2 separate regions of the Homo sapiens genome follow, and region 1 is linked to region 2. The links are contacts of gene promoters, found by promoter capture Hi-C in blood cells and fetal thymus (Javierre and others, 2016). All regions are on one chromosome and are shown on one strand. Each heading gives the region's core, a stretch centred on a gene start or on the middle of the fragment in contact. The rest is flanking DNA. Distances are from core to core; before and after follow the strand shown. Region 1 holds the start of TRAF3 (TNF receptor associated factor 3). Region 2 holds the start of EXOC3L4 (exocyst complex component 3 like 4).

Evidence for each region. Contacts are between HindIII fragments. The CHiCAGO score rates a contact against its expected background, and 5 or more counts as called.
Region 1: the fragment with the promoter of TRAF3 here is called in contact with a fragment that was not itself captured in region 2 in 1 of 17 cell types (total B cells); the score reaches 5.3 in total B cells.

Annotation. Positions count from the first base shown.
Region 1 is chr14:102,776,080-102,779,744 of GRCh38, forward strand. It overlaps TRAF3 (TNF receptor associated factor 3), which reads left to right and starts at 1,370. Exons shown (of 12, transcript NM_145725.3): 1 at 1,370-1,596. RefSeq lists an enhancer at 1-182 and silencers at 893-952, 1,043-1,652, 1,863-1,912, 2,153-2,212. The HindIII fragment of the contact is 6,975 bases long and covers 1-3,665 here.
Region 2 is chr14:103,091,398-103,094,878 of GRCh38, forward strand. EXOC3L4 (exocyst complex component 3 like 4) reads left to right here and starts at 3,328. Exons shown (of 12, transcript NM_001077594.2): 1 at 3,328-3,443. RefSeq lists a silencer at 1-403 and enhancers at 544-723, 2,197-2,766, 3,337-3,481. The HindIII fragment of the contact is 5,265 bases long and covers 1-3,481 here.

The sequences.
Region 1 (3,665 bases), core at 120-2,619, 320 kb before region 2:
GCCACTGTGGCCTGGTGAGTGTGGCTGTAGAACAAGCATCTGTTGGGCTAATGGAGCCAGAGACATGGTCCAATGTCTCTGATGTCCAGATAGACTTCCAGCAGCCAGGTCGGACTATCTGGGGTTCTGGAACGTTCCATGGGTGAAGCTGTAGGAGGAGATGCTGGACTTCCTGCCTCCACTCACATGAGTCACTGGAGCAATACAAGAAGGCAGACTGGCCTTGGCTACTCACACTGGTCTCAGCTCTGGGGTAGGGCTCTTTATAAGCCTTCTTGAGAAGTGAAAAATGCAAAGTCCTTTCTGTCCCCTCACCACTGACTTGCAAACTCCAGCGAAGGCCTCACCCCTCAGCTGGCCCAGAGCCTCCCAGAAGCCCTCCCTTCGCTTCCCACCTCGCCAGGCCCAGCCAGGCTGGGTGCTGCCTTGGTGGGCCTAGGTGAATCACTGACACACCACTGATGCCTTTGGGGCAGAAGGCAGAGGCCTCGGGAGAAATGCGCAGGCCCCAGCGGCCTGGTGGAGGGTGCAGGGGGCGCAGGGGCAGCCAGGACCGCCGAGGACGCTGGGGGCACGTGGCAAACTGGCTACCCTGTCCACCCGTGAGCAAGACACCACTCCGGGGGCGTGGGAGGGTCCAAGGGAGGGAGAAAGGAAAGTGCCACCAAACTAATGTGGAGCCCTGCCCTCTGCATGCGAAAAGGGGCTCCACGGCCTGAGTCACCCTCAGCCCCACCTGCGTGTGCGCGAGGGTGCGTGGCCTGGTACGCGTGCGCACGGTGTTGGTGAGCGTGTGTGTGCGTGTCCGCTTGAGGGGAATGTGACCGTCGTGTATGCGTCCGCGACAGTGCGGGGGGCCGCATATCGGACCCGTGCGTGTGCGTAGGGGTCGCGTGTGGCCATGGGCACACGGGCGTGCACGCACGGGGGCTGCGTATGCTATGCTGGCGTGGGGGGTGCGGGCGAGGTGGCCGCGGGGAGGAGCGGCGCCAGCACCTCTCGGCCCCCACGCGGCCTGCGTGGCTTTTTGACCCGGAAAGGCGGGGACGCGGGGACGCGCGGCGGCGGGGGCGCGGCGGGGGCGGCGCAGAGCGAGGAGGCCCGCGGGGCGCGCGGCGGGGACGGGAGGGAGGCGGGGGGCGCCCGGGGCCGTCCCCGCCCCGCGCCGCGGCGCCGCCGTTGCTAAGGCCGGGCGGGCGGCCGCCGGGCGCTAGGGCCCTTAGCAACGGGTCGCGGGCGCGCGCGGGGGGCCGGCGGGCGCGTGGGGCCGGCGGCGCTCGCGGGCTCCTGCCGCTCCCACGCGCGCGGGCGGCGGGGGCGGGGCGGCGGGCGCGCCGGGGATTTCCAGCGCGCGAGAGGAAGTGCCTGCGCGGGGCTGCGTGAGGGAGCGAGGGAGCGAGGGAGCGCGGCGCGGCCGCCGCGTGCGCGAGCCGGGGTTGCAGCCCAGCCGGGACTTTCCAGCCGGCGGCAGCCGCGGCGGCCGCCGGCTCTTCCCCGCCCCCCGCCATGGGGCAGCCCGGGGAGCAGAACGCTGCGGACCGCGGCGGAGGACGCGCCCGGCGCCCCTGAGCCGGCCGAGCGGCGACGGACCGCGAGGTAAGGGGCCGCGGCGGGCGGGCGGGCCTCCGGCGCGCGGCCGGGCGCCTCCATCCCCGTCGCCTCCATCCCGCGCCCTGGGCGGCGGGGCCCGGGGGCCTCGGGGCTGCCCGGCGCGGGCCCGGCGCGGCGCAGGCCCGGCCCGTCCCAGCGGCGACGGCGGGGCGCGGCTTCAGCCTGGCCCCGCGCCCCAGCCGGGCTGCCTCCCGCCTCCGGACGCCTCAACTTCGGCAAACTTTGTCCCGGAGGCCGGGCTCGGGGCCCGAGGGGGCCGGGGCGCCCGCACCTTTTCAGGAAACGGGGCGCGCAGGCCTCGCTACGGCCGTGACCCCCGCTGGCGTTGAGGACCCGGCACCCCGCGGGGCCGCGGGTTTCACGCGGGGGGACGGGCGGCTCAGGGGCTGCGTGGCCGAGCGCGCTGCCCGGGCCGGCCGGGGGGGCCCGGGCGTTATTGGAAAGTTGGTCCTGAGTCATTCCGCCTCAGAGGCGCCTCCGACCGCTTGGCGGGCGGCGCGGGGGTCCGGGTATGGGCAGAGGGCGCGAATCCCCCTCGCGCGGCCGCCGAGGGCCGGCGACTCCCGGGGCACCGGGCGGCTCCTGGCCGCGGGCTCTGCGTCTTCCCCGCGGGCGCCAGGCGGCTCTCGGCGGGCTGGCCGGTTCCACGCCGCCAGCCAGCCCCGTGTGGGGACTTCGGTCTAGTATTTGGACCCGAGGAGATAATTCTGTGTGGAAAATTCTCTCCCTTCGGTTGGAAACAGTAACAAACTGGAAACGGATGAGGTGTTATGGACGTGCTTGGAAATGCAAGAAACCTTCAGATTACGAGCTGTTGACGGGACCAGTTGTATTTCACGTTTTTCGAATTAAGCTCAGAATCAGTTTTCAGAATGACATGTGATGCGTGGTGCGTGGTGTGTGTGCCTGTGTGTGTGTATGGATATAATTCATTCATTTTTGTGGCGTCAGAAAGGTTATGTCGAGCGTTGTAGCGGCTTCTTAATTTACATTCACGGCATACAACTGAAGAGGAGCCATTATTTATTTTTTTTCCTAGCATTTGCTGCGACTACACACTGCCGGAGCGTTTGGAAATGTTGTTTGCTGTTACCCTGTATTTGTCTATAAAATTCTTACTGTAGGGAATGGCCAAGTGGACCATCAGTTCGTCCTGAGATCTTCTCATGTCTCTCACGTCTTTGAAAATGGCCTGTGAACAGACTGCATCATATGTAGGATGTCTGGCAAAATAGTGTACAGCGTTCTTTTCTCAAATGAGAGGAAATGTGTACCTTTTCGCCGCGTTGTGACAATGTAAATGTTAAGAATTAGTCTAAAGATGAAAATTCTTTGGCCAAAACAAGATAAGCCTTATCGATATGAAAACTGGAAAACATCACATGGGACTGGAAATCCTGTGAGTGGGTGCTCATGACGGAAACCCTGACAGACCTTGGATTCCAGCATCGCTGGTGAAAATCAGACCTTATCATGGATAAGGGTTAAGATGTAAGGTGTCTCACCCAGACGCCATCTGTTCCAGCTGTCAATGCAGAAGCCAGGAAAGGAGAGAGAGCTGGCCAGGGAGAATTCCAGCTTTTTTTTTTTTTTTTTTTTTTTTTTTTTGAGACATTCATGTGAATTTCTCTGCGAGGGGAAAGAAGACCAATTATTTTCCTTGGATGCTGTCCCTTCTTTTGGAATTAATAAGATGGCTTCACTCAGTGAGAGGCTGTAAAGACATTTCACTGGAAACAGGCAGTAACAGTGGCCAGTTGTTTCTGTTAATACCATCAAAATATCCCTACTCTTGTTTGTGCCTTGAAGAAAGTCCTTCATTTAACTGAGACATCTGAGCCTGCGTTGCGGATTCTGATTCTCTAAATACTCCTGCAAGAATCCCTTTAATTTTTCACTGTGCAACTCAAGAAGGACCTTTCTAGGGTATTGTCAGGATACGTATGCTAATGATATTGTCAGGTTAGGTGAGAATGATTGATCACTCCCTTAAAATCCTTTTTTATGATGTTAAAGCTGTACTTTAAGAAAGATAAAACTGCCACTGTGGCGTT
Region 2 (3,481 bases), core at 755-3,254:
GGCGGAGTCCCAGGGCGCCCACAGCACCCCGCCAGCGCGCCCCGTCCAGCAGGGCAGCTTTTGGGCGGAGGCGACCCCCACCGCAGGTCCCAGGACCCTGCGTGCTCTTGAGCCAGGGGTGGAGAGGCCCGACCGCGGGGGGCTGCCCCACCCCGCCGCCCTTCACCGCGAGCCGGGGCCCAGACCGCCCAGCCACGCCCAGAGCCCGCGGGCGGAGACGCCAGGGGCGGTGCCAGCGAGGTCCCGTCCCCGGTACCCCGTCCCGCCCCCCCACACGCGGTGACCTGGGGACGCCCCGCGGGAGTCGTTCTGCGGCTCCCCCTGGCGTCGGCTGGGGCCACCGCCCGGGCTCCCACCTCAACCCTGCAATATGGGGTTGGGGCAGAGTGGTCTGCTGCCCGCTGCCCGCAGCCGCTTCCGGTTAGGGAGGGAGCCTGGGCCTCTGGGTGCTCACGCTGCGCTTAACGCTGGTCCCGGCAGCAGTGAGGGTGGAAGCGGCCGCCTCTGGCTTCTACACCCCGGGTGTGACAGCCTGGCCTCTCAGTGAGCCCCAGATCAGGCAAGCATTTGGTGGTGGGGGTCCTGCTCCCTGGCCTTCCCTACCTGGGAGCCAGGTCCTCAGCCAAGGTGAACCCATTTGATCCCGACGACAATCCCATTTTCTGGAGGAGTAAACTGGGGCTCAGAGATTGAGGTGCCTCTCCAAGGTCGTGGGGAGCTGGGCTTGCCCTCTGGTGGGTGTCCCTGGCTAGGCCTCTCCCTCCTAACGGCTCCCCACCCGGCCTTCTCCTGACCCCAGACCAACCTCGTGACCCAGGCTTCTTTGAGATAAGGCTGGGGTTTTTCCAAAGGGATTTTACTGAGAAACTTCGGGAAAACATGGACATAGCATGAAAGAAACATTGCAACCTCATGCTGAAAAGCGGGCACAGGCTCAGGTGCCTGTGGAGAGCAGATGGGAGTTGAGGGGACTTCCAGGAGCAGTCCCCAGGCCCTGGGCACCACCAGCTTTTCAGGCACCTGTGTATTGAATGGAGCGACCCATAATTGGAGGTCCCAGGACCCCAACATGCCCTGGGAGCTGGGGGGCGGGTGGGAGAATTAGACCGGGAAGTCTCCAGTCCACCAAGGCCTGGCTGTATGGGAAGACCCAGTCCACAGAGCCAGAGACCTAGGTCGCAGTCCTGGCCTCTCTGGGCACCTGTGTGGCCGAGAGCAGGTCACTGAGCCCTGGGGAGCCAGCCACCTTGGACCCCGGCTGTCTCTGCTCAGTTTTGCTTATTCCCTGTTACCCCTCATCTCTGCCTGTTGGAGACAGGTGGGGTGGGACTCAGGCCAGCAGGTGGGACTGGGCTGGGAGGAAGGGCCTATGGGCTGCTGGGCACCTCTCGGGCTTGAAGTGGGACTCTTAGCACCCCACTTCACAGAGGGAACCCAGGGCTCAGGGTAGTGACTCAAGTGGTTAATTGGAGGGCTTCCTGGAGGAGGTGCTGGCATCTTTGAGTCTAATTTGGCCCCTCTGCAGATGGTGCTGCAGCATCTCAGGCACCTTCCAGTCTGTTATGGGCTGCTTTTCCCCCATAAAATTCGTATGTTGGGCTGGGCGCGGTGGCTCACGCCTGTAATCCCAGCACTTTGGGAGGCCTAGGCAGTCCAATCACCTGAGGTCAGGAGTTCAAGACCAGCCTGGCCAACATGGTGAAACCCCGACTCTACTAAAAATACAAAAATTAGCCGGGTGTGGTGGTGCGTGCCTGTAATCACAGCTACTCAGGAGGCTGAGGCAGGAGAATCACTTGAATCCAGGAGAATCACTTGAATCCAGGAGGCAGAGGTTGCAGTGAGCTGAGATCGCGCCACTGTACTTCAGCCTGGGTGACAGAGAGAGACTCCGTCTCCAAAAAAAAAAAAAATTCGTATGTTGAAGTCCCAATCTTAGAATGTGACCTTATTTGGAAAATTCCTTATAAAAACACGTGACCTTTAAAGAGGTAATAAGTTAAAATTAAGTCATTCGGGTGGACCCCAACCCATATGAAGAGGAAATATGGACACAGACACGAAGTGGGAAGGCCCTGTGTTGACCCAGGAAGAAGGGGGGGCGCTACCCACAGACCCAGAAAACAGCCCCAGGAGAAACCAGCCCCACACATGCCTTGACTGTGGGCCTCTGGCTTCCAGAACTGGGAGAGAATAAACGTCTGTTGTTGAGGCTCAGTCCCTGGTCCTGTCGTGGCAGCCCTAGGACACTGGATGCATGGGGCCGTCCCTGCCCTCAGCCCTAGGATGCTGGTGCACTGGCCTGTCTCTGCCCTCAGCCCTAGGACAGTGGGTGCATGGGGCCGTCCCTGCCCTCAGTCCTAGGATGCTGGTGCACCGGCCTGTCTCTGCCCTCAGCCCTAGGACACTGGGTGCATGGGGCCTTCCCTGCCCTCAGTCCTAGGATGCTGCTGCACGGGGCCACCTCTGCCCTCAGCCAGAGGATGCTGGTGCAGGAGGCTATTTCTGCCCACCTCAGCACCCTGCAGCAGCCCCATCACACACCCTGGTGGCCCCAGCCCAGGTTGGGACAGGCCTGGATCCGTTCTCCTTGGATTTTCCCTGAGTTGTTTCCTAAGACGCTCGCTGCGGAATCCCCCTATGCAGGGGTGAGGCTGCCTCTTCTGGGAAGTGTCAGTGGCCCTCCCTGCGGCACGTTGCCCGCCTGACCCCCTGGTGTGGGGAGTGGGGCCCCGCCTCCACATCTTTGCCCCTGCCCAGGATGCCGTCCCTTCTCACTTCTGAGTGTGTCCTGTCTGTCCCTAGGGCCCCATCCCTTTCTCTAGCTCCTGAAGCCCCCAGGAATGGCATGTGGCTCTCAACTGCTGCCTTTGCTGTCACCGTGAGCTTCCCTGACAGGCAGGGTGCAGGGGTCTCGGGATGAACTCGATGGACTGGCCCAGTGCTAGAGCCTCTGTCCTGGAGGGAGGGGTCCTTCTGGGCTCCGGCACTGTGGGCTGAGTGTCCCCCGAGGCCAGCGCCTGCTTCCGCTGGCCTCTGAGCAAAGGAGAGGTTGGTGGTGTTTTGGGTGGCAGGCAGCGTCCACCCCCTGCTGCCTCGAGACCCTGAGTGCCGAGCTCCGCAGCCTTCCCCTCCCTTGTTCTCTGACCCTTGGACTGAGCCCTGAGCTGTCTGGAATGGAAAGCTGGAGTGACTGCCTCCGGAACGAAAAGGAAGTGGGAACTTCTCTGAAAGTGAAAGTATGGGGTCCTGGTGGAGGGTAGGGCTGTGGGTGGGGCCGGGTGGGCCTGGCAGGCGCTGACCATGGCTGGGAAGTCCCAGCTGTTGGTCACTCGCTCAGGCTGCTCTAGAGGCCCCATAGCCAGGGCCCGGCTCTGAGGGCCCCACGGGCCAGCTTCTCAGGGGGCTGTGTTCTTCCTGGGCCAAGGCTGCGTGCTCAGCAGGTATGTTCTGGGCAGGTGGAGCAGGAGGGCATGGGGTG